Regions from separate parts of the Homo sapiens genome. Here all the other regions are linked to region 5. Evidence: promoter capture Hi-C in 16 types of primary human blood cells and fetal thymus (Javierre and others, 2016). All regions are on one chromosome and are shown on one strand. The core of a region is centred on a gene start or on the middle of the fragment in contact, and the rest is flanking DNA. Distances in the headings are between cores, read along the strand shown.

What was found. Contacts are between HindIII fragments. The CHiCAGO score rates a contact against its expected background, and 5 or more counts as called.
Region 1: a contact is called between a fragment that was not itself captured here and the fragment with the promoter of UST-AS1 in region 5, in 10 of 17 cell types (total B cells, naive B cells, M1 macrophages and 7 more). The highest score is 15.1, in total B cells.
Region 2: a fragment that was not itself captured here is called in contact with the fragment with the promoter of UST-AS1 in region 5 in 4 of 17 cell types (total B cells, naive CD8 T cells, naive B cells and 1 more); the score reaches 6.4 in total B cells.
Region 3: a fragment that was not itself captured here is called in contact with the fragment with the promoter of UST-AS1 in region 5 in 1 of 17 cell types (naive B cells); the score reaches 5.2 in naive B cells.
Region 4: a contact is called between a fragment that was not itself captured here and the fragment with the promoter of UST-AS1 in region 5, in 7 of 17 cell types (naive B cells, M1 macrophages, total B cells and 4 more). The highest score is 10.5, in naive B cells.
Region 6: a fragment that was not itself captured here is called in contact with the fragment with the promoter of UST-AS1 in region 5 in 6 of 17 cell types (naive B cells, total B cells, fetal thymus and 3 more); the score reaches 7.9 in naive B cells.
Region 7: a contact is called between a fragment that was not itself captured here and the fragment with the promoter of UST-AS1 in region 5, in 15 of 17 cell types (naive B cells, total B cells, megakaryocytes and 12 more). The highest score is 28.9, in naive B cells.

What each region holds. Positions count from the first base shown.
Region 1 is chr6:148,587,303-148,590,970 of GRCh38, forward strand. No RefSeq gene overlaps it. Among named protein-coding and RNA genes, the nearest start is that of UST, 160 kb to the right of the region's middle. The HindIII fragment of the contact is 1,957 bases long and covers 895-2,851 here.
Region 2 is chr6:149,416,373-149,419,953 of GRCh38, forward strand. No RefSeq gene overlaps it. Among named protein-coding and RNA genes, the nearest start is that of SUMO4, 18 kb to the left of the region's middle. The HindIII fragment of the contact is 4,936 bases long and covers 1-3,581 here.
Region 3 is chr6:149,437,184-149,441,096 of GRCh38, forward strand. No RefSeq gene overlaps it. Among named protein-coding and RNA genes, the nearest start is that of SUMO4, 39 kb to the left of the region's middle. RefSeq lists an enhancer at 3,457-3,913. The HindIII fragment of the contact is 9,116 bases long and covers 1-3,913 here.
Region 4 is chr6:148,613,393-148,617,100 of GRCh38, forward strand. No RefSeq gene overlaps it. Among named protein-coding and RNA genes, the nearest start is that of UST, 130 kb to the right of the region's middle. The HindIII fragment of the contact is 1,483 bases long and covers 703-2,185 here.
Region 5 is chr6:148,963,021-148,966,528 of GRCh38, forward strand. It overlaps UST-AS1 (UST antisense RNA 1), which reads right to left and starts at 1,664. Exons shown (of 3, transcript NR_038408.1): 1 at 1,541-1,664. UST (uronyl 2-sulfotransferase) reads left to right here. Exons shown (of 8, transcript NM_005715.3): 5 at 1,390-1,543. RefSeq lists enhancers at 552-1,128, 1,129-1,705. The HindIII fragment of the contact is 7,762 bases long and covers 1-3,508 here.
Region 6 is chr6:148,534,991-148,538,962 of GRCh38, forward strand. All of the region lies in intron 16 of SASH1 (SAM and SH3 domain containing 1), which reads left to right. Among named protein-coding and RNA genes, the nearest start is that of SASH1, 190 kb to the left of the region's middle. The HindIII fragment of the contact is 4,264 bases long and covers 435-3,972 here.
Region 7 is chr6:148,570,807-148,574,342 of GRCh38, forward strand. No RefSeq gene overlaps it. Among named protein-coding and RNA genes, the nearest start is that of UST, 170 kb to the right of the region's middle. The HindIII fragment of the contact is 3,138 bases long and covers 1-2,976 here.

The DNA of each region.
Region 1 (3,668 bases), core at 623-3,122, 380 kb before region 5:
AGGGGGATACTGACCTTTCGCCAGCCCAAGTGTGCCTGTAAGAGGTGGCTGGAGACTCGTATTGGGAGGTCTTACCAAGTCAGTAGGAATGGGATCAGGGATTCACTTAAGTAAGCAATCCAGCTGCTTTTTGGTAGAGCAGGTGTGCTGTGTTGGGGATCCCTTCAGCCCCGATTGGTATGGGGTCTCCAGGACCCACAGGCTGGGCTGAGTGAGAAGTCCAAACAGCCAAGGTGGTGGCCTGCTCCACCCCCTGGGCACTTTGTTCCAGGGGGAAATTAGAGCTCTGTTTATGGAAAACTGGTTGGAGTGGCTGAAGCTCTGGCTGCGAGGTCCTGCCCAGTGAGGAGGAATGGATCTGGGTCCTGCCTAAAGAAGCAGTCTGGCCACAATCTGGCAAAGTGGCTGTGCTGCACTGGGAGACTTTTCTTATCTGGACCATTTGGACTTTCCAAAGCTGGCAGGCTGGAACCACTGAGTTGACTGAACCACAAAGATGGTGGCTGTCCCTCCCCACAGGAGGCCCTGTCCCAGGGTGAGATCAGAGCTCTGACTGTAGACCACTGAATTCTTCCATATTTCAAACTTTTGAACTATTTTTATAGCTATTATGATAATCTGTGGTCAGTGATCTTTGATGTTTCAATTGCAATTGTTTTGAGGTACCACCAACCATGCTCAGATAAGAGGGCAAACTTCAATAACTGTTGTATGTGTTCCGACTGCTCCACCAATCTGCTGTTCCCCCTTATATCTCTTTTGCTGGGTTTCCCTATTCCCTGATACAATAATATTGAAATTAGGCCAATTCAGAACCCTACAATGTCTTTAACGTGTTCAAGTGAAAGAAAGAGTTACAAGTCTCACCCTTAAATCAAAAGCTAGGAATGATTAAGCTTAGTGAGGAAGGCATGTCAAAATCTGAGATAGGCTGAAAGCTAGGCTTTTTGCATCAGTTAGCCAAGTTGTGAATGCAAAGGAAAAGTTCCTGAAGGAAATTATAAGTGCAACTCCAGTGAACACACAAATGTTAAGAAAGTAAAGCAGTCTTATTGCTGACATGGAGAGTTTGTGTGGTTTGGATAGAAGATCAAACAAGCCCCAAGATTTTCTTAAGCCAAAGCCTAATCCAGAACAGGGCCCTAACTCTTCAATTCTATGAAGGCTGAGAGAGGTAATAAAGCTGAAGAAGAAAAGTTTGAAGCTAGCAGAGATTGGTTCATGAGGTTTAAGGAAAGATGCCATTTCCATTACATAAAAGTGGAAAGTAAAGCAGTAAATGCTGATGTAGAAGCTGCAGCAAGTTATCAAGTTATCCAGGAGAGACAGCTAAGATCATTGATGAAAGTGGTTACACTAAACCACAGATTTTCTTTTTTTTTTTTTTGAGATGGAGTCTCGCTGTCTCACAGGCTGGAGTGCAGTGGCGCGATCTCGGCTCACTGCGAGCTCCACCTCCCGGGTTCACGCCGTTCTCCTGCCTCAGCCTCCTGAGTAGCTGGGACTACAAGCACCCGCCACCACGCACAGCTAATTTTTTGTATTTTTAGTAGAGAAGGGGTTTCACCATGTTAGCCAGGATGGTCTTGATCTCCTGACCTCGTGATCCTCCTGCCTCGGCCTCCCAAAGTGCTGGGATTACAGGCGTGAGCCACCGTGCCCGGCTAAACCACAGATTTTCTATGTAGATTAAACAGCCTTCTGTTGGAAGAAGATGGCATCCAGGAGTTTCATAGGAGGAGAAGCGAATGCCTGGCTTCAAAGCACTGAAGGACAGGCTGACTCTCGTTAGGGTCTAATGCAGCTGGTGACTTGAAGTTGAAACCAATGTTCATTGAGCATTCTGAAAATCCTAGGGCCCTTAAGAATTATGCTAAATCTACTCCACCTGTGCTATATAAAGAAACAACAGGATCTGGATGACAGCATATCTGTTTATAGCATGATTTACTGAATATTTTAAGCCCACTGTTAAGACCTACTACTCAGAAAAACAGATGTCTTTCAAAATATTACCACTCATTGACAATGCAGCTAGTCACACAACAGTTCTGATAGAGATGTGCAAGGAAATAAATGTTGTTTTCATGCCTGTGAATACAACATTCATTCTTCAGCCCATGGATCAAGGAGTAATTTCGACTTTCAACTCTTATCATTTAAGAAACACATTTTATAAGGCTTACAGCTGCCATAAATAGTAATTTCTGTGATGGATTTGGGCAAAGCAAATTGAACCTCATAGAAAGTATTTCTCATTCTAGGTGCAATTAAGAACATTCGTGGTTTATGAGAAGTCAAAATACTGACATTAGCAGGAGTTTGAAAGAAGTTGATTCCAACCCTCATAGGTACCTTTGAGGGTCTCAAGACTTCAGTGGAGGAAGTCACTGCAGATATGGTAGAAACAGCAAGAGAACTAGAATCAGAAGTGGAACCTGAAGATGGGACTGAATTGCTGCAATCTCATGATCAAACTTGAATGAATAAGGAATTGCCTCTTATGGGGAGCAAAGAAAGTTGTTTCTTGAGATGGAATCTACTTCTGGTGAAGATGCTGTGAACATTGTTGAAATGACAATGAAGGATTTAGAATACTATGTCAACTTAGTTTATGAAGAAGTGGCAGGGCTTGAGAGGATTTACTCCAATTTTGGAAGAAATTCTACTATTGGTAAAACGCTATCAAATGGCATCTCACGTTACAAAGAAATCTTTCATAAAAGGAAGAGAGAGTCCATCGATGCCTCAATTTCCATTGTTGTCTTACTTTAAGAAATTGCCTCACAGCCACCCAAACTTCAGCAACAATTACCACCATCAACACTGTGGCAAGACCCTCCACTGGCAAAGCTTACAATGTGTCAAAGGCTCAGATGATTGTTAGCATTTTTTAGCAATCAAGCATTTTTAAATTAAGGTATGTGAATTGTTTTCTTAGACATAATGATTTTGCACACAATAAACTGTGGTATAGTGTAAACATAACTTTTAGATATACTGGGAAAACAAAAAAATTTTTGTGACGTGCATTTTTGTGACATTCACTTTATTGCAGTGGTTTGAACAGGACCCACAATATCTCCAACGTATTCCTGTATACACCTGGACCTTAACCAGTGGGAAAAATGAGCAGCAAAGTTGTCCTGGGTCAACTAGAGCTGGAAAGTGTCGGGGCTGGGACAAACCAGGCACTATCTGTGCCCAGCCCCCTCTCAGCTCCACTAAACAGCTTTTTTTCCTCCTTCAGCTCAAGGGCCACCAAAGTGAGGGGGGCTGGTGATGTCTGTGGTGCCCCTGTCCATTCATGCCCAAAACAGGTGAGAATGGAACCACACAAAAGTGAAAATGAAACTGGTGGGGAGGAGGAAATAAGGTTCAGAGGGAAAGAATAGGGGTGCACACAGGAAAAAGAAGAAAAACAAAGGGGAGACTTTCACAGATTGCCTAGCCATGGCACTGGCACAGGCAGTAAATGATGTGGATTCTGTCTTGGGACATGTGGCTACTCTATTCTGAAAATGTCATTTGCTTAAAAAAAAAAATTATCTATTGCCATTTAGCCCTCCTGGATATGCAACTTAAAAAAATCAAATACAGAAATTGGGTTATTTTCTCCAAATAAATTGAGAATATTTTATATTACTTATTGTGTCTTTATAGTAGAA
Region 2 (3,581 bases), core at 732-3,231, 450 kb after region 5:
GTCGAGATGCCCTCCAGGACTTTCATAGATAGAGAAGAGAGATCAGTGCCTGGCTTCAAAGGACAGGCTGACTCTTGTTAGGGGCTAATGCAGCTGGTGACTTGAAGTTGAAGCCAATGCACATTGACCATTCCAAAAATCCTAGGGCTCTTAAGAGTTATGCTAAATATACGCTGTCTGTGCTCTAGAAATGGAACAACAGAGCCTGGATGGCAGCACATCTGTTTATAGCTTGGTTTACTGAATATTTTAAGCTGACTGTTGAGACTTACTGCTCAGAAAAAAAAAAAAAAAAAAAAAAGATTTCTTTCAAAATATTACTGTTCATTGACAATGCACTTGGTCACCCAAGAGCTCTGAGGGAGTTGTATAAGGAGATTTCTGTTTTCATGCCTGCTAATATATCCATTTTGCAGCCTGTGGATGAAGGAATAATTTAGACTTTGAAGTCTTTATCACTTAAGAAATACATTTCATAAGGCTATAGCTGCCATTGATAGTGATTCCTCTAATGGATCTGGGTAGAGTAAACTGAAAACCTGGGAAGAATTCACCATTTTAGATGACATTAAGAACATTCATGATTCATGGGAGGAGGTCAAAATATCAACACTAATAGGAGTTTGAAAGCAGTTGATTTCAACCCTCGTGGATGACTTTGAGGGGTTCAAGACTTCAGTGGAGGAAGTCACCGCAGGTGTGGAAATAGCAAGAGAACTAGAATTAACAGTGGAGCATGAAGATGGGACTGAATTGCACTCTCATGATCAAAGTTGAACAAATAAAGAGTTGCTGTTTATGGACGAGAAAAAGTGGTATCTTGAGATGGAATCTCCTCCTGACGAAGATGCTGTGAACGCTATTGAAATGACAACAAAGGATTTAGGATATTACATAAACTTAGTTGATAAGCAGCCACAGGGTTTGAGAGGATTGACTCCACGTTACTGTGGGTAAAATGCTACCAAACAGCATCACATTCTACAGAGAAATCTTTCATGAAAGAAAGAGTCAGTCGATGCAGCCAGCTTCATTGTTGTCTTATTTTAAGAAATTGCCCCAGTCACCCCATCCTTCAGCAGCCACCACCCTGATCGGTCAGCAGCCATCACCCTGATCAATCAGCGGCCATCAAGACCCTCCACCAGCAAGAAGATTATGACTTGCTGAAGGCTCAGATGATTGTTAACATTTCTTAGCAATAAAGTATTTTTAATTAAGGAATGTACATTTTGTTTTTAGACATAATGCTATTGCACACTTAATAGGCTGCAGAATAGTGTAAACAATTTTATGTGCACTGGGAAACCAAAAAATTCATGTGACTGACTGTATTGTGATACCCACCTTATTATGGTGGTCTGGAACCAAACCTGCAATATCTCCAAGGTATGACTGTCAGGACAGGTGTGTCTTTGTGTCCCCATAGCAAATAACTTCATACATGGCAAAAGGTCAGTAGTTGATGATGATTCTTTTTTTATTTAAGATAGGGTATCACTGTTTTGCCCATCCTGGACTTCTAGGCTCAAGCTATTCTCCCACCTCAGCCTCCCAAGTAGCTGGGACTACAAACGTGCCCCACCGCACCCAGACTTGATGATAACGACTCTTAACATGAAGGCCAAGTTAATTTCTAACATTTATTCAAGTTAACCAGTGGGTACAGCCATTTTGAATGTAGTATGTATTTTCCCCTAGAACTAGTATTAGAAGCAGTAGGTTCCCAGGCCAGCCCACTAATTAGCTGGAACGCTTTGCATTTGGAAAACTGAAATAAGGCACAATCATACTATTGGGATAGATAAATGTAACAATGAAACCCAAAAATAATGTTTCTGGTATCTTCTGTGTGGTGCCAGAGGGGGATGAAGAAGTAGAGATCTTTGTGGATATTCTGGAAAATTCAGAAATTGGCATTTCAACCTGAGGCCTCTGTTACATCTAACTTTACTTCAAATTTTAAAGTTTGCTTTTTCATGGACCAAAGTGTTTGAGTGGCTTCTTCTTAGACATAATGAATGTCCTTTTTTGTTTTTCTTCAAAATTGAAGCAGAGGGACATGGGAGAATATTTTTCTGGAGAACACTGGTCAAGAGAAGAGGAAAGAAAGAAGAAAATTAAATGCAAAGTATGTAAAAATCCTGTCTTATTCTTTCCCAAGAAAGGTGAAGAGACAGGCTTCTGACTAAACGATGAGCAGCAGAGAGCAGGGACTCTCACTGGTTAAACTCCACTGGGTCTGATAGCCAACACATTGCCTGAGAGTGAGTGACATGAAACAAGCCCACATTTTATTAATCTGAATTGAAGTCTTAACTACTACCTTTTGGTTTTTAACACAAGTCTTTCACGTGCCCTTTTGCTGAACTGCCAAATTCTTTTTGTAATAAAACAGCATACACATCTTAGAACACCAATTTGCTAACCCAGACAACCAAGCTCTGCTAAGGTAATGAATGAGAAGCAATATATGCAGTTTCCATTCCAGTGAATGATAATAGGTGATTTTTGTTATGAAGTATCTCAAAGCATGATTATATTCAATATCGAATGACAAAAACACACAGCAAAGATTTTTAAACTTCCACCTGTATTGCTCTCTTTATTAACCATAATCTCTTTCTTTTCTACTGTTTATTATGTTTTGTTTTGTTTTTGTTTTGAGACAGAGTCTAGCTCAGCCACCCAGACTGGAGTGCAGTGGCGCGATCTCGGCCCACTGCAACCACTGTCTTCTGGGTTCAAGCGATTCTCCTGTCTCAGCCTCTTGAGTAGCTAGGATTACAGGCACCTGCCATCATGCCCAGCTAATTTTTGTATTTTAGTAGAGACGGGGTTTCACCATGTTGGCCAGACTGATCTTGAACACGTGACCTTAAGTGATCCGCCCACCTCGGCCTCCCAAAGTGCTGGGATTACAGGCATGAGCCACTGCGCCTGGCCTCTGTTTATTATTAATATGCTAACAGTTAACAGGTAACTACTGGCTTCACATTACAAGAAACAAGGGGCTCCCAAATTTGGAAACGAGTAAAGAATAAGTAGTACTCACTGAAAACCTTAGGCCAACTGTCATTTTGTCCTTTTGATTCCAGTTTGTGCTAAGGTAGCAATAGTAATTTCTCAGTTCTCAATCTGCACAATCATCTTTATATTTCAAAAATTTCACATTTTGAATTTGCTACTTCCTCCTTTTGCTAGTCTTCCTAATCTTAGCCACATTCTCTCATTTTCTTCACTGCTTTATACCCTGCTTCCAGCTTAGGTCTGGCACATAGTAGGTGGGCAACAAATTTTGTTACGTTATGAATTTGATGACAGGGTCTAGCTTAATTTTTCTATGATTTTCCCCAAATGCTTTTCAGTATCACATTCCTGCCATAGGTCAGGCAGTGTGTTTGATGACACGAGAGACAGTCACCACCTTAGAGCTTATAAAGGAGAAATAAGCATGCAAGTACAGTCAATCATTATCTGTGGATTCGTTTGTGAATTTCCCTATTCACTAAAAATGGTCATGGCACTTTCATAGTCCTTTGCAGATATGGGTAGAACAGTGACAAACTTGAGTCACCCAA
Region 3 (3,913 bases), core at 164-2,663, 470 kb after region 5:
GTGCTGCAATAAACATACGCGTGCAGATGTCTTCTTTTTATTAGTATTTAATGACTGAATTTCCTTTCGGTAGATACGCAGGAGTGGAATTGCTGGATTGAATGGTAGATCTTCTTTTAGTTATTTGAGAAATCTCTATACTGCTTTCCTTAGAGGTTGTGTTAATTTACATTCCCACCAGCAGGATGTGGGCATTCTTTTTCTACCACATTAGTGCCAACATCTATCGTTTTTTGACTTTTTGGTAATGGCTATTCTGGCTGGGGTAAAGTGGTATTACATTGTGGTTTTAATTTGCATTTCCCTGATGATTAGTGACATTGAACATTTTTTCATACATTTGTTGGTCATTTGCAGATCTTTTTTGAGAAATGTCTGTTCATGCCATTTGCCTACTTTTGTAATGTGATTATTTGGGTTGTTTTCTTGCGGATTTATTTTAGTTCCTTGTAGATTCTGGATATTAGTGCTTTATCAGAGGCATAGTTTGCAAATATTTTCTCCCATTCTGTAGGTTGTCTGTTTACTCTGTTGATAATTTCTTTTGTTGTGCAGCTTTTTAGTTTAATTAGGTCCCATTTATTTTTGTTGTTGTTGTTGCTGCATTTGCTTTTGGGGTCTTAGTCATAAATTCTTTGCCTAGGCCTGTCCAGAAGACTTTTTCCTAGGTTTTCTTCTAGAATTTTTATGGTTGCAGGTCTTAGATTTAAGTATTGTATCTATCTTGAGTTGATTTCTGTATACAGTGAGAGATGGGGATCCAGTTTCATTCTTCTAAAGGCAGCAATCCAATTTTCCCAGCAGCATTTACTGAATAGAATATCCTTTCCCCAGTTTGTGTTTTTGTGTGCTTTTTGAAGATTAGTTGGATGTAAGTATTTGGCTTTATTTCTGGGTTCTCTATTCTGTTGCATTGGTCTATGTGTCTATTTCTGTATCAGTACCATGCTGTTTTAGCAACTATAGTCTTGTAATATATAATTTGAACTTGGGTAGTGATTTGTTCTTTTTGCTTAGGATTGCTCTTTTGTTCCAGATTTGTTCTTTTTGCTTAGGATTGCTTTGGCTATATGGGCTCTTTTTGGTTCCGTGTGAATTTTAGGTTGAGGGCTTTTCTAATTCTGTGGAAAATGACCTTGGTATTTTGATAGGAATTGCACTGAATCTAGAGATTGCTTTGGGCAGTATGATCATTTTCACAATATTGATTCTTCTAACCCATGAGCATGGGACGTTTTTCCATTTGGTTATGTCATCTATGATTTCTTTCATCTACTTTCTTTCATAGGTCTCTTTGTAGAGAACTTTCATCTCCTTGGTTAAGTATATTCCTAGGTTTTGTTTTGTTTTGTTTTTGTTTTTGTTTTTGTTTTTGTTTTGTTTTTTTGAGACATAGTTTTGCTCTTCTTGCCCCAGGCTGGAGTGCAATGGCACAACCTTGGCTCACTGCAACCTCTGCCTCCCTGGTTCAAGGGATTCTCCTGCCTCAGCCTCTGCAGTAGCTGGGATTACAGGTATGTGCCACCATGCCCAGCTAATTTTGTGTTTTTAGTAGAATGTGGTTTCTCCATGTTGTTCATGCTGGTCTCGAACTCCTGACCTCAGGTGATCCACCTGCCTCAGCCTCCCAAAGTGCTGGGATTACAAGCATGAGCCACCGTGCCCGGCCTTTTTGGTAGCTATTATAAAACGAGTGGAGTTCTTGATTTGACTCTCAACTTGTTCATTGCTGGTGTATAGCAGTGCCACTCATTTGTGTGCATTGGTTTTATAACCTGAGACTCTACTGAATTCGTTTATCAAATCTAGGTGTCTTTTGGATGAGTCTTTGGGGTTTTCTAGGTATAAGGTCATATCATGGCAAACAGAGATAGTTTGACTTCCTCTTTTACAATCTGGAGGCCCTTTATTTCTTTCTCTTGCCAGATTTCTCTGGCTAGGACTTTCAGTACTGTGTTGAATAGAAGTAGTGAACGTGGGCATCCAGGTCTTGTTCCAGTTCTTTGGGGGAATGTTTTCAACTTTTCCCCATTCAGAATGATGTTGGCTGTGGGTTTGTTGTATGTGGCATTTATTATTTTGAGCTATGTTCCTTCTGTGCCCAGTTTGTTGAGGGTTTTTATCATAAAGTGATGCTGAATTTTATGGAATACTTTTTCTGCATCTGTTGAGATAATCATCATATGGTTTTGTTTTTCATTCTGTTTATGTGGTGAATCACACTTATTGACTTGCATATGTTGAACTATCCCAGGGCCCTGGGATGGAACCCACTTGATCATGGTAAATTATCTTTTTGATGTGCTGTTGGATTCACTTTTCTAGAACTTTGTTGAGGATTCTTGTATCTGTGTTCATCAAAGATAGTGTCTGTAGTTTTGTTTGTTTGTTTGTTATGTTCTTTCCTGGCTTTGTTATCAGGGTGATATTGGCTTCATCGAATGAGTTAGGGAGGGTTTCCTCCTTGATCTTTTGGAATTGTTTCTGTAGGATTGGTAGCAATTCTTCTTGGAATGTCTAGTAGGATTCGGCTGTGATTTCACTGGGTCCTGGGCTTTTTAATGTTGGGAGATTTTTTATTACTCATTCAATGTCACTGCTTTTTACTGGTCTGTTCAAGATTTCTATCTCTTCCTGATTCAAGCTGGGTGGGGGTGGGATTTGGGGTTAATTATATCTTGTTTTGCTGAGGTCAGTGGGAAGAGGCAGCTCAGAAGCTGAAAAGCAGCCTGGAATCCCAGTCCACCAACCCCTTGCTTTTCCCCCATCTAGCCCAGCCTCAGTTCATTCTGCCAGCAAAAGAAAGAGACCAAAGCACTACTGGCAGACCTTCACAGGTTTGTGTGTAGGTCTGAGGCCTGCGCCAGCTAAGCACATATTTTGAACATCCCCCTTTTCAACAATGAAAAATTATTTCTCATGTCGTTTCTGCTCATTAACAAGATTCTAGCATCTATTTCTGTAACAATTATTAGGCTCCTAAGGTCCCTCCTCTGGAGAGAGAAACCCCTATTAGGGGCCTTCAAATGCTAACCAACCAATCTTTCATGCAGATTAGAGATTTTTTTTTTTTTTTTTTTGAGACGGAGTTTTGCTCCTGTTGCCCAGGGGGAAGTGCAACGGCACAATCTTGGCTCACTGCAACCTCCGCCTCCCAGATTCAACAGATTCTCCTGCCTCAGCCTCCCAAGTAGCTGGGATTACAGGCATGTGCCACCACACCCGGCTAATTTTGCATTTTTAGTAGAGACAGGGTTTCTCCATGTTGGTCAGGCTGGTCTCGAACTCCTGACCTCAGGTGATCTGTCCGCCTCTACCTCCCAAAGTGTTGAGATTACCGACGTGAGCCACCACACCCAGCCCCTAGAGTTATTTATAAATGCATTCATACTACTCTTTACACCGAATTCTTTTTAGCCTAAGTAACCATAAAGATAATACAAAACCGACCTTTGGCAAGTTGCTTCCAGCACCTCAGTTTTCTCTTCTATGAGATGGAATTAATGGCGCACATCCCAAAGGCTGTTGTGAGCATCCCGGGGTGATTCAGAAACAGGGTAGAAGGAATGTGCACAATGAACCCGAGCTTTGTTTTGAACCAGAAGGTGAGCTCTGTGACAGCAGGACTTTCCCCAGGTCCTAGAACAGAGGGCACATAGCAGGGGCCTCACATATCGTGCTGGATAAATGAATGAATGAACCAGGATATTTTTGTAGAAATCCCTAAACTGACACAAAGGCCCCAGGGCCACCAGCTCCCCCTGTGCCTTCAGCAAGTGACTCAGCCTCCGGGACAGGCGTCCACTCAGGACCTCTGAGTTTCCTCCAGACTCTATCCCGCCGTGAACAGACAAAGCCACACACAAAAGTACACAGCCCTCACCTACAGGCCCAAAGAACAAGGCCCAGGATT
Region 4 (3,708 bases), core at 194-2,693, 350 kb before region 5:
AGAAGAAGAAAGATAATATTTCCAGGTTGTGCCCTCTAAGAGCATTCTTTTGACTGTTGTGATGCACTGATCTGTCATAACAAATTCAGATTGGCCCACCTTAGCCCCTCGGCCTGGCATGGAAGACAGCAGATTGGTTGCAGCTGGTCCACAATGGTGTCACTGGCTCACCCAGCCAGAGCTTATGAAAAACCTCAGTCTGGATCGCCAAGATGTTTTCCTCAAAATGATCCCATAGAGCTGCCACTCTGACAATACCAAGAAGGTCTTGAAAAGGACGGGGTTTGGAATACTATAGAATTATATAAGTGCTTCCTTTGCAACTCATCCTTCACCTTGGCAGGCATGCATCCTCAAGTTCAGTTCAGGACTTGCAATGACCAAGAGACCAGTTGATTTGGCTCCATTGACCTGGAGTGGATTCCTGGCTGAAAACCCAGGGCACTGACTTGAATGGTCAGATTTCCAAAATATAAAAGGAAACAGCAAGAGGAAAGGAGAAGGAGAATGGGGTGTGTGTGCACGTGTGTGTATGCATGTGTTAGTGCAGTTTTAGAGGCCTGTGTGGGTGAGAAAGGAGAGTGACACAAAACAGATCAGAAACCACGCCTGGCCTCCCATGTTGAATTTCTCCCCTTATTCCCTGTACTGGATGTTTGTCATTTGCCTCTCCAGCCTCAGTTTCTCTCTATTGCCTTAGGAAGCTTAATGTCAACAAGGATTCCCCATACCCTCTGGCTTCCAGTGGAATCAGCCAATGAATCAGTGGGCCCACTGGCAGGAGTTCTGAAAGCTGGAAGAGAGGGTGGTTGTTGGCAGGGGTTGGCTGCGTCCTTCTGTGAAAGCCACAGCTTTTACCAGGTGACTTCTCCGTGCTACCCTCTCGATGTTCTGGTGACTCGGCTCTCATTTTGCCCCTCAGACCAAGGGGTAGTGATGATGGATCTGTGCTGTTGCCAGTTTGGGAATCCTGCACTATTCTTTGTTGGTTCCCCTAAACCCTGCCTGCACCTCTAAATAATCTCTTTATTAAACTCTTCCCAAATCAAATTGTTTAAATATGGCATTGGTTTCCCATCATGAGTTGGACAGATATGTTCTACAAATATATGAGTTTTTGCAAAGGAGGTGACAGAGATTGAACTTGAGAAAGGCAAGTTAAAATTATAGTAGTATCAGTCCCAGTTCTAGGGCTATTGATAGTATTAAATCAAGTTTAGCCTAAAGCTGCCTCCTGACAATGTTTTAAGTTCAGCCTAAAGGTTTCTCTGTGCATCATGAACTATAACAAATGGAGGTGTACACAGACCGTAGCCCACACTTGTGCCAATCATGGAGTTTTGGCCAATCAAATGTAGCTGACTGTTCTAACCATGTTCAAATAAGGCAAACGGTGTACTGTAATCAATCTGGCTGTTTCTGTACCTCACTTCCCTTTTCCGTACATCATTTTCCTTTTTCTGTCCATAAATTGTCTTCCACCACATGGTTGCACTGGAGTCTCTGAGCATACTCTGGGTCAGGAGGCTGCCCAATTCACAAATCTTTCATTGCTCAATTGAACTCTTTTAAATTTAATTCAGCTGAAGTTTTTATTTTATCAGTGGCAATGAAAGAGACCCATTCTTTCATGTCTACACATGAACAAATAGAAAAAGCAGTGAATTAAAAGTCAGAAAACTTTGGATCTAGTCTGGAATTTATCCCACACTGGCTACATGGCCTTGGTCAATTAATTTACCTTTTGTAGGACTTAGTTTTCTCTTTTATATAATATAAATAATCTGCTCAACATACTTCATGGCACTGTTGGGAGATTCAAATATCAAAATGCTTTGAAAAAAGGCTGTTCCATGCTTATCTATTGTAAAAACTCAGTATGTTTTTCCAAGCATAGCAGTAAATCAGCTCCTTTGAAGATTTTACCAAGTCTCCCAGGAAGAATTAATTCTCCTTCTTTCATTTTCTCAAAATTCAAACTATTTTATACAGAGACTTTGATCAGTCAAGAGCGCTTAGAAGCAGGAAAGTCATGGGAACCTCAGACTTAGAGTGAGCATTTTGAATATCATGGAGCCTGATGAGGAAATGAACCTGTGGAGAGAAGGGGGTGGAGGAAGCATAGAGTGAGAAGTCAAGAGAAGAGGCCACACTGGCACAGACAAATGGAAATTTTATTCCTGGAAGCTTTGCAGATCCTAGAAGTCAGGGTTTGTATCTTGTTTACCAACCTTAGATTCCAAGACGCATCTCAGTGTCATAAATCTCCTCTGCAGTTGAGCTAGCTTCAGTGGGTTTCTATTTCTTGACAATCCAGTGAGCTTTGATTGGAGAGCCATCCTTAGCCACCTTCCGTGGTCCTGGCAGGGCTGCTGAGACTGAGTGAGTGAAGCCTGGCCAGTTGGATGCCACTCGGCCACTGTGGGCCTGCCATGGCCACTTTCCATGTGTCAGATATGGCTTCAGGCTTGCCATATTTCTTGTATTCACAGACTTTCCTCTTGCTCATAAGGTTTCCACAGCTTGGATGGAATCTTCTTTCATCTCCTGTAGAGCTGTCCCTTTTCCTTTGTCATCAAGTATCATGATCATTTTGTGGTTGGCCACTTTATTCCCACGGCTCCTTGTCCCTTTTCTCTACAGGTTCTTGCTTGCTGTACAATTTCCAATGCCTCACGAGTGTCCAGGGAACAGAGCAGAAGAAGAAGAACATGTAAAGAATGAAGATTTAAGCAAGCAATTAATGTAGGCCAGCCCTAAGCTTGGGAGACCTCTGGTCTTAACTTTGCCTCCCAGATCTGAGTTAGGGCCTGTCTTTGCCAGGGGGCCTTGGTTGACAGTAATTCCAATGGGCCCAGCTCATACTGAATCAAAAAGACAAGGTTAATTTGGGACTCCATTACTGATTTGCTTCTGGGGTCTGATAAAAGGGAACATTAAACTATCTCCTAAGGCAGCTGAAGAACAATCTGAATTTCTCCAATGCTTGGAAGTAACTTTTTCCTAGTTCTTAGGAGGGGTAAGTTTCCAGGGACAGTTCTAGTACCTGGAGAGTCTCAGAATCAGAACTCATGATTCTAAGTTTAATATCTTAATACAACTCTAAGTTTAATATCAACTTTCTGTAGCAGTGCTTTGAGAAGTGATGAAGCAGAGAGGGGAAGGTAGGAACCTGCAGAAGGAGGAGGAGAAAAACGGGGCTTAGGAGCAGATGTGCTGCTTTATTCCTGTGAAAAGTGTTGCTTTTTAGAAACCATCTTGTCTATAAAGTAGTTTCTAAGGGAAAAACACATCTTTGAATTACAGTTGAAGTGCTGGCATTCTGCTTTAGGAACTTTATGCTAATGGTTTCATTAAATAATTATCCATAATAATAGATTCATTTCATGTTTGATTAATTATTAAAGAAATGAAGTAACATCCAGTTACAGAACCCACTAATAACCTTTATAAATATTGCAAGTTGCAAACTTTCTGGGAGAAGTGGCCATTTAAAATTTTTCTTTCTTTTTTTCCTTCATATGGCTTTCACAATACAAATGATAGTACCGAAGAAATATTGACAGTATGACCAACAACTTGGCTTTACTTCCAAGGATCATAACTGATCATCAGAGGTTATGCAATGAATGGCACTTGAGAGAGGGAAAATCCAAAGGAGGAAATCTGAGTTCTTCGGCCAGATGTTCCATTTGTTCCCATCAGGCC
Region 5 (3,508 bases), core at 414-2,913:
GCTAGAGCGTGTCGTTCCTGGCTGCAGGAGGCCCACAGTCTGATGGGAGAGGCACACATTTCCACACAGTGCAAGAGAGAGGGCCCAGGGCACAGAGGAGGGAGGCATGGACCCTGGGTTGGGCATTAATTGCTGAGGGATGTGATGTGACTCCAGGCTGGGTTTTGAAAGGTGAATGGAGTCTGCCAGCTGGGGAGAGGCAGGAGCGGGGTCCTGTCAGTTTGTTTTCTCTTAGTTCTTTCTGACCCCTGACAGAATGTCCAGGCACATTCCTCAGAAGGTCACGAGGCCATAGGGCTAGAGAACCCTGCAGGCCCCTCAGGAGGTCACCAGAGCATGCCCTCTGCCCAGAGACTGGGGCACTCTCCCCGAACTCCTCAAGGCTACTGCTTTCAAGCAGTTCAAAGAGAAAAAGAAGGAATCATTAAGAGAAATCCAGCCAATCTCATCACTCTGCTTCGGGAAGACCTTGTTCTTGGGCCAAGATTTAGTGGATTCATCTAATCCTTTCATGGAAGGAATTAAAATGGAACACCTGGCTATTTGCTTTATTTTTATCTGAAGCCACTTGCCATCACTTGAGGATAATTATGTTGAATTTTGTTTCATTCTTGATATCCCACACAAAATTTCCTCAACTCCAGAAATCACTTTTCCATAATTAAGAGCATAGATTCTAGAGCCAGATTGCCTGGACCCATATCCTAGTTCAGCTACAAGTTATGAACCTTATTCCTGCCTCAGTTTCCCCAAGTGTAAATGAGGATAATTATTTTTTCTACTCCATTGACGTGTTATGGGGCTTCAGCAAGCTGGTTACATGAGGTATTTAGAACAAGGTGAATAGCGAGTGCTCAGTGAAGACTGGCTGTTATTCACTCCCTTACTGCAGAGCACCTGACCCGGAACTGTTTGAATTACAATATAGAGGAAGTGCCGTCTCACCCAGCAAGGCAGTCAGAACCTACCAATCAACTGAAACATTCACCGAGGGCCAATTGTGTCCCTGTGGGTTCTGTTCTAGCCATTGGAAATACTAAATCCAATACAGAGTGGCCCCCATCCTCAAGAAACCTACAGCCTGGTGAGAAAACTAGACACCATCTCTTCCTTAACATGCACAATGGTGTGGTTTGTACCGTGCTATACTATGAAATGTCCTCACAGCCCCTCAACAGGTACCTGGAACAGGTATCATCCTCCCCACTTCCTGCATGATAATAAAATGCTTATCAGGAAACACCGTTTGCTTATTACGTGTCATTGGCACCTTAGCATAGGAGGTCATCTTTCAATAAGTTAACCTAGAGGGAAGGGGAGATGTTGTCTAAGTAGGCCCTGTTTTCGTCCTGCAGTGATGGGTTGTAACGAACTCAATGTTTGTGTTAGGTTTGGAGGAGACCAGCCTGTCTACATCAACATCATTAGAGACCCCGTCAACCGGTTCTTATCCAACTATTTTTTCCGTCGCTTTGGAGACTGGAGAGGGGAACAAAATCACATGATCCGCACCCCCAGCATGAGGCAGGAGGAGCGCTACCTGGTAAGTCCTGTCGCATGCAAAAGGCGGTCTCCCCACTGCCTGAGGAGTGGGCCCTCCACCAGGGAAGGTTCACTCTTCCCTTCCCAGGCCTTCTCCTTGGCGCCTCCATGGAGCGTGGCGCAGAGAGGGTGCTTCCGCAGGAAGGAGGTCTTGGCGAGAGAAACTGGTTCCGGGTGACCCAGATCCTAATGAACATTTCCTCAAATTATTTTCTGATTTTGCTTTGCTCAGTTGTCTTTAGTGCTAGGTTTTGGGACCCAGAGCGTTAACAGTCTTTCCTAAGGAGTCCTGACTAGCACTGTAGTGCTTAAGAAGAACAAAGGTGTTGGGGGGGTGTCTGTTAGAGGGCGGCAGAGCCCCTTCTCATCCCTCAGCCCATTCAGTTCCCATGACCACTCTGGGAGGGGGAGGTGTTTTCAGATGAGGACCCTGAGATTCTAAAGGTTGTGGGATTTGCCACAGTCACCTCTCAGGTAAGGGCGCAACTGCGACCGACTGTTTCGGGTTTCCTGCCTTCACAGTCTGGGTTCTTTCCACCACAGCGCGATAGAACCCTGTCATTGCACCAGTAATTGTTTGCTTTCTCTGGACTTGTTTTGGGACCCTCAGCTCCATAAGGGATGTTAGTCTCGAGCCCAGTAATTATTTCCGCAGCACAGAGGTTGGTAACAAAAACGGAGGGCGGAGTTGCGCGTCTTTCTTTCAGCACTAGAACGAAAGGTACATTTCCCATCCCTGTGTTGAGAAACATGTACTGAGGAGCTGACAGCCTGGTGCCCAGGAGGCTGAAATCCTGGTCTCTGTGTCTGAGAGAGCCCTTGGGGTTCACCCGGACCCATCCTGGGCTGTTGTCGGGCACAAGCAGGAAAGTAGGAAGTGTTGAGGATCAGTCAGAGGTGTTGTTCCCAAAGCTGGAAGATCGCCCAGAGCTGAGGCCACTGCTGATGTGCCGTCAGCAGCAGCCTTGCCGCTGGAGAAAAGCACCGAATCTCAGGGCCACGGCCAGGACGGCTGCTTCCTCATCTCATTTTAAAAACATAATGGAAGTGGATGTTCAGAGGCTGGGAGCATTTGGGGATGATGTCCCCTCAGTGTCACGTTCATGTTTTCAAATCCATGATTAGAGTAGAGAAAACTGAGATACAGAGAAGTTAGTGTCTCAGCCAGGGCCAGACGACTACACCAGACCCACGGCTTTCCACTCACCTTCGGTATTTGATCAACTACCTAAGGCTTCAGTGAAATATTTTGATGATTTTATTTTTATTTTTATTTTCTTCCTTTGATGATATATTTTAAAAGTGGCTTTTCCCTTTTTTTTTTTTTTTTTTTTTAGTTTTTATGGCGAAACCCTAATCTATTTCTTTATAGGTTATGAGGCCGGGCGCAGTGGCTCACGCCTGTAATCCCAGCACTTTGGGAGGCCGAGGCAGGTGCATCACTTGAGGCCAGGAGATCGAGACCAGCCTGGCCAACATGGTGAAAACCTGTCTTTATTAAAAATACAAAAATTAGCCGAGCATGGTGGCGCATGCCTGTGATCCCAGCGAATTGGGAGGCTGAGGCAGGAGAATCCTTTGAATCCGGGAGGCAGAGGTTGCAGTGAGCCAAGATCGTGCTACTGCACTCCAGCCTAGGTGCCAGACCGAGACTCCATCTCAAAAAATAATAATAATAATAATTAAATAAAATAAAAAACTATAGGTTATGAATATGACTATATGTTTTTTATTTGGTGAGACGTGTATTCAGAGTATAGAAACACTACAAGAATAATGTCTTCTCTAATTATCTTTATTATTTGTTTTGGATCTTGATTAATATATCTATATGCTCTTTAAAAACAGCATACATTCCATTTAATCCAGACAATTTTTTCATAGTTCTGATTCAATCCTCATGCTAAGAAAGTTAGAACCAAAGGACAGCAGAAAATGCCAAAAAACCAACAATACAGAAACACGT
Region 6 (3,972 bases), core at 1,317-3,816, 430 kb before region 5:
GTCACTTATTCTGTCCTGTTCTTTCTGTTACAAGAGTATGACAGTAAGTCCCTGTACGCACAGAGGTGTTCCCTGTGAGGTCTGCCACAGCAGGCCCCACCTACGCTGCCAGTATGTGCTTAGGTCCCTGGAGTCACTTATTCTGTCCTGTTCTTTCCCATGCCAAGGTCAAACAGCACAAAATCATAAATTCCCAGTGCAGACATGGGAACAAAAGAAAACCTCCTGTGCCGCCGCCACCTTTCCGGGCATGTTTCTAGGTGATAGTTGAAGAGGATTCTGCACCAAGTGTCTGCAAGAATGGAATTACAGTTTTCCCAAAAAAATGGGTAGACTCCACTTTCAGTACTTTTGAGAGGTGCAGCCTCCAGCAGGCCATTGGGACAGCTGAGCACAAAAGTGACTGACCAGCTGGGAGGTTTTCGCTCAGCCAAAGCTTGATTACTTCTCAGAGCACACGAGGAGTTGTGTTCTTATTGAATAGACTGGTTAGTGAATAAATGAAATTCATCAGCTTTCGTTAAAGGAGGAGACGTCTCTCCGCAGTGAATATGTAGAGCAGAGAATTCCGTATCGATTGGCTTGCAAATTCCCAACCTAAATGACAGCTTATTTTTACAGCCTGTGAGCAGAATCATCACTGAGCTCACAGCTTTTATGAAGTCTGTCTATTTGAATACACCATACCCTTTGCTCCATTAACTCAGTCTTATCTTGCTCTGTATTATTCAATCTGCCATCAGAAATATTCCTGAAATCATTCATCTTAAAGGAGTATCCTTTCCAGTTACTGAATTCAAACACGTTTTCCTTCAAGGACTCTGCTTCAGGGATATCAGTAGCTAATAGCATTTCTGTTGCTAAAAGACACACCAAAACCATGGTTAATGGTGGAAAAAAGAATTATACATTACTGAAATGTATCAGGCCTGAGAAACGTGGAAGCAAGTGTCATTAGGTGAAATTCCCTTCTGCTAAATAGGCAGTCCCTCTAAATGAACTGGTAAGCTAGAGAAACACACACCATCAGATAGATGTCTGAGCCTAAGATAAACAGGCTGCCTTTAGGGATAGATTTGGGATAGATTTGGAGGCAATTGTGATTCATAGTTAATATCACTTTATAACAAGGTCTTTTAAGTAAGTATTTGATTGCCCAAGAGACACTTTGGGGTCTGTGGCCAGGTTGCGTGTAAAGAGCCTGCACGGTAACTGGTGTAGCCTACCAGCTCAATTAGTATGAATCAGTATTAAAGCATCTATTGTCCCGAACCACATCTGCCCAGAAACAGCTCACTTGCTCTTCCTCAGTCACCAAGAACAGCTGGGGTTTTTGTTTTGTTTTGTTTTATTTTGTTTTGTTTTTGAGACAGAATTTCACTCTCGTTGCCCAAGCTGGAGTGCAGTGGTGCGATCTTGGTTCACCGCAACCTCCGCCTCCCGGGTTCAAGCAATTCTCCTGCCTCAGCCTCCCGAGTAGCTGGGATTACAGGCATGCACCACTACGCATGGCTAATTTGTGTATTTTTAGTAGAGACGGGGTTTCACCATGATGGCCAAGCTGGCCTCAAACTCCTGACCTCAGGTGATCCGCCCACCTCGGCCTCCCAAAGTGCTGGGATTACAGGTGTGAGCCACTGCATCCAACCAACAGCTGGTTTATATATACTCTCCATGACATTTCCTTTATCATCCACAGCTTTGGAGGAGAAAAGCTAACTCCTGAGTGTAAGGCAGGAATCTGTGCTTAGACTGCTCCATGCCACTTTGGCTGAGACCCATCATTCCTCCTGGGATCACATCCTGAGATTTTTGTACCAAGGAGCATTTTGTAGGAGGGTATCGCTATCCATCAGGTTGCTAACCTGGAAGGTGAAGAAGACCTCTTTGCCTCTTCAGACATTCCATTGTGGATCTATTCTGCTCTGGTGTTTAGAACGTCCCTGATAGATAAAGTTGTACTTCCTTTTATTGGTTCTAAAACAAAGGCTTCAAGGTTCCAGAGTACCCATTAGTGCCAAGAGTCAGGGTCCAGACTTTTCCTAGCATTATAGGATTTTTACATCCAATACAGTTAAAGTCATCGTGGCTAAGAAGTAGTGCCTCTAACTGATAACATGATAGGTTTCTGTCAAACAAGATTTCCATACACTAGGGAGATGCAGAGGTCTATTGAGATCTTTGAAGATATGTAGGGATCTTGAAAGGTTTCTAGCTTAGCCATAACTGAGAGCAAAAAGTACATTTCCAGCACTACTTGGAAGTCAGACCCGTCCAGCCTCCCTCGAAGCGTGGGAAAATGCCAGCCATCATATAGGGTTCCATTGGGAAAAGACTCTAATTGTCAGATGGCTATTCCTTACGCCAAGCCCAGACCCACTATCTTAGGTCTGGCAAATGAAAGCCTCTTACAAATTGCTAAAAGAATTTTTACTTGTGGTAAAATACAGATAATCTAAAGTTTACTGTCTTAGCCATTTCTAAGTATAAACAATAACTTGTATAAGAATTCTAATTAGGAATTATTTCAAACATGCAGAAAAGTACAGAGGAAAAGAAAACAAACAAACATATGCATGCACATGCTGAAGTTAATGTTTTGCCATATTTTCTTATTTCTTTTACATTTTAAGAAATATGGTGTAAGCCCACAGAAAGTCCTGCTTTCAAAGAATCCCATTCCCTTCTCTTCTTTCCCAAGGTAACTGCTCCCCAGGCAATGCTATGTGCCTTTGGGTACCACTACCTTTTGATGTTGGAATATTCATAGGTGTCTTAGCATATTCTGTGTGTGTGTGTGTGTGTGTGTGTGTGTGTGTGTGTGTGTGTGTGTGTGTGTGTGGTTGGTGAGGCTGGAGGCAGAGAGAGCTTAGCCCAAGCAGAGTCCCTTCAGGTCAAAGTTCAGGTCATGCTCAAATGGGGTTACAGCCTCACAACCTAGCACTTTGCTGTGATTTGACTGTGAGAATTTTCAGCGTTCTAGCTTATCTTCCTTCTTACCTTTTGTACCTTGGCACCCACGCTGACAAGTGTGGGAAAAGGTCATGGTCTTGATTCTGCACTACAGAGGAGAGGCACCTCACCTCTTTTTCTCTTCTCCCTAATGAAGACAGCGATTCTAGCCCCCTTCCTTACGCCAACTGTGGTTTTCAGGTGACACAATGGATCCCCTCCTTCTCCAAAATAATTTCAGGTATTCTGCTGTGTCTGCTGAGGCTGGGGTCCCCAAAGATGCAGGCACAGCACATACTTCCATGCTGCAGTAGGAGCAGGTCTTCTGTGTTACTCCCACCCAGCACTCTGGAGTCTGTTTTGGCCACTGTGGTGCACTGAACCATGTCACCAGGGACAGAGTACACCGACTCCTCTCCCTGGGTTGTAATGGATAGCACAAAGCCCTCATTTTATAAGTATCATTTTTCTAAATAACATGCTAGGCCAGAACAAAGGCCACTGCAAAGCCACAGGCTCTTCCACACAGTGAGGACACCGCTCTAGAATGTTCCACTTTTAGGTGGTCAGGGGGACAGTATTTGCTCTTGTGCTTCCAATTAGTTAATTTTTCATTAGTCACTTTAAAAGTAGCACTCTTAATTTGGGATTCTAATTGAGGGACTTACGCTGCCACGATCTCTGCTGTAGTTGGGGCTGTAAAATGCTTTCCCCGTGAGAAATGCAAGCAGGAAGTGGTGGACAGCCGGAGAGCTGCCAGAGCCTTCTGCCTCCCCGCATTTTTATTTTGATGACCTGAGAAAAGGCATCACATTTCTGGCTTATTGATTTCTTTTTTTCTTTGTGTATGTGGTTGGAGTGGGGAAGTTGGTGGGGGATGAAAAGAAAGGAAAATAAAGCCATTCATCATTGCAACTAGCTATTTTGTGTAGAAAATGTTTTCTTGGTTTCTGTTTTATGTGACCAAGCACTTACTTACTCTGCATAATAATGCAAAGATGTTCTGCGTGTAACCTCAGT
Region 7 (3,536 bases), core at 158-2,657, 390 kb before region 5:
GAGGCTTCTGCAGTTGTTTTGTAGGGCTGGTGTAACAAAGTACCACGCACTGGCTGACTTAAACAACAAAAATGCATTGTCTTCCCATTCTGGAGGCTGCATAACTAAGTAGGAGGTATGGGCAGCGTTAGTTCCTTCAGAGGGCTGGGAGAGAGACTCTGCTCCTGCTTCTGGGGCTTTGCTGGCAATCTTTGGCATTCCTTGGCTTGTGGAAACATCCCGATCACTGCCTTCATCTGCACATGGTGTTCTCCCTGTGTGCATGTCTGTGTCCACATTTCCTTCTTCCATAAGGGACACGAGTCACATTGGATCAGGGGCACACCCTGTTCCCACATGACCTTATCCTAACTTAATTAATTATATCCGTGATGGCTTCACTTCCAAATAAGGTCACCTTCTCAGTAGGACTTCAGTGCATGTATTCTGGGGGACACAAATCGGCCCCCCTTTGAAGTGTGTTTCTTCCTTCAGGACTCTCAGCCTTAGGCTATTCTTTAGCGGTGTTTTTGACCCCTTCACCGTTGACACCCTGGTCAGTAGGTGTTGTGTTTTACTCTAATTTGGTCTTGTGGTCTCTCTCAGGAGAGTGGCCACAAACTTTAGCCCTGCCCTTGAAGCGCTCCAGGGAACTTCATCATGGATGTTTACAGTGAGCCTTTCGTGGAGTACCTCTTTATTCTGGCAGACAACCTAATGCTTAAATGTGTGACCCACGGCCAGGGGTCCCTCTCACAGAACACCTGTTGATACTGGTAGGTCCCCTTGTGGCTTCTGTCTGACCTGTGTGCAGTTTATTCCCACCAAGATGGCCGCTCTCTAGGAGAGCCCTGAGCAGGAGAGAAGTCAGGGGAGACACAGAAGAGCAGTTGCACAGAGCCCATGAAGAAACAGAAGCAGTTCATCACATACAGATCGCAGACAGAACAGGGCAGTGGCACGCTGCCCTGCAGGGCACACTGAAGGGCACACTGCAAGGCCAACAGGAAGAAAGGGGCTCCGTCCATGACATGCAAGCTCAACTAGTGGGTGGGGCATGAGAGAGAGAGATTGGGATGTGTGGGATGAAGGCTTTATGAGGGTCCAGGGTGGTACCTACACATGTTCTATATGTTCAGGGCCATAGCGATGGCTGAGGCCCCCTCTCTAAGAGCTGAAAGTGTGATAGTGGACACTGAGAGGGGAGAAACCTGTGTTAGTTAAGTGCTGTGGGACTGCTTTACCAAGAACGTGACTCTTTTTTTTTTTGAGACAGTCTCACTCTGTTGCCCAAGCTGTAGTGCAGTGGCACAATCTCGACTCACTGCAGCCTCTGCCTTGAAGGCTCAAGAAATCCTCCCACATCAGCCTCCCCAGTAACTGGGACTACAGGCTCACAGCACCACACTCAGCTAATTTTTTAATTTTTGGGGGGCCAGATGCGATGTCTCACACCTGTAACCCCAGCACTTTGGGAGGCTGAGGTGGGTAGATTGCTTGAGTCTAGGAGTTTGAGAGCAGCCTGGGCAACATGGTGAGACCTTGTCTCTACTAAAAATTAAAAAAATTAGCTGAATGTGGTGAAATGCGCCTGTGATCCCAGCTACTTCAGAGGCTGAGATAGGAGGATTACTTGAGCCCAGAGGGGTTGAAGCCACAGTGAACCATGATTGCACCACTGCGCTCGAGACTGGGCGACAGAGCAAGACCCTGTCTCAAAAAAAAAAAAGTTCATAAAGACAAGGTCTCATTATATTGCCCAGGGTGGTCTCAAACTCCTGGATTCAAGCTCATGAGCCACCGTGCCTAGTGTGAAGGTAACTCTTAAATCTGACTCTTGAACTCTGAGTCTTGGAGGAGAACAAACCAGAAAGAGAATGAGGGAAGAACATTCTATACAGATGAAAGAAATGGAACAAAGACATGAAATAAACTGGGCATGGTTTATTAGGAAAACCCCATTAGGAATGGTTAAAGGAAGCAACGGTGTTAAACCTAGAAAAAAGATCATGTTTCTCAACACGCCGGATTCCCATGTCCTTAAATTGCTTGTGGGCTGAAACCACGTGCAGTTACAGTAGACCGTTCACGCTCCCAGAATGTCAGAAAGCATGCACAGGCCATGTGTACAGACAGCGACTCCTGCATTAGGACTGCCACTTGGGCAGGAGCAGGGCTGAGACCCCCTCAGTTATAAGATGCAGCCTAACTTCTGAGATTTTCAAGTGTCAAAAAACTATACGTCTTAGGGATAGTAAAGCAGAATATGCATGGAATGAAAAATTGAGTTGTAAGAAGTCCTACTCTTATGGAAACTCAAGGCAGGGTAATAATAAGAACATGTGCTTTGGAGTCAGTATGACCTGGGTTCACTTATAGTTAAATATAGCCCCAGTTACTAAACCGAGAGACTCTCAATTTTCTCATCTGTAAAACACAGCTAATTATTACCTCATGGAACTAAAGGAGATAAAGTGTGTAAATTCACATTTGATATTAAGACCATAGCTGTGAACAGGGAGGAGCAGTAAGGCTATAATGTGGCTCCTTCTAGGCCATCTTAGACAGAGCAATCCCTAGTCCAAGAATTTCCTATGCAAACACTGAAAAGTGGCTGGGTGTGGTGGCTCACAATTGTAATCCCAGCAATTTGGAAGGCTGAGGCAGGAGGATGACTTGAGCTCAGGAGTTCGAGACCAGCCTGGACAACATGGTGTGACCTCATCACAGTAATGCAGTCCTCATCTCTACTAAAAAGAAAAAAAATTAAATAGCTGGGTATGGTGGTGTGTGCCTGTAGTCCCAGCTACTTGAGAAGCTGTGGCAGGAGGGTCGCTTGAGTTTGGGAATTTGAGGCTGCAGTGAGCTATGATTGCACCACTGCATTTTAGCATCAGCAACAGAGCGAGACCCTGTCTAATAAAAAAACCCTGAAAAAATGATAGCTTATAATCTCAGTGCTCCCCAAACTTTTTTGACCTTACATGCATTACACAAAGCTTTGAATACATACCACAGATATAGATGCATTTATTTACTGACAAATTTTGTTCAAGTGTATTACTATACTAATACCTATTATGAAACAAACAAGATTTAAAAGTATGAGATGAAGACAAAATAAACAATAATGAAAATAAATTGTTTTACTTTATTAACGGTACCAAAAGCCCTTGATGTATTACCAAATAAAAATGCCATTTTTTCTTGACAGGGCTCTAATTATATATGGATGCATTGTTTCTGAAAATCTTGATTTACATTTTGTGATTCTGTGATCAAGGGTTTATTTGTGTGCTTGGTTTTAATGGCATTAGGGGCGGAAGTTGATCCTTCACAAAGATGCAAATAGAAGCGCACCATTGGCTGGGCTTCCTACATTATGATCACAAGCACTTAGCAGGGCCGAATGGTGCCTGAGGGCAATACAGTGATATCCTATGTCCCTAGACTCGCCAAGAAATGAATAAATACACATAAAATTAGGGTGCATTCATGTGTTCAATGTTCATCCAATCTAATGGTATTAACTCAGTGCGAAGTGGAAATTAAAACTT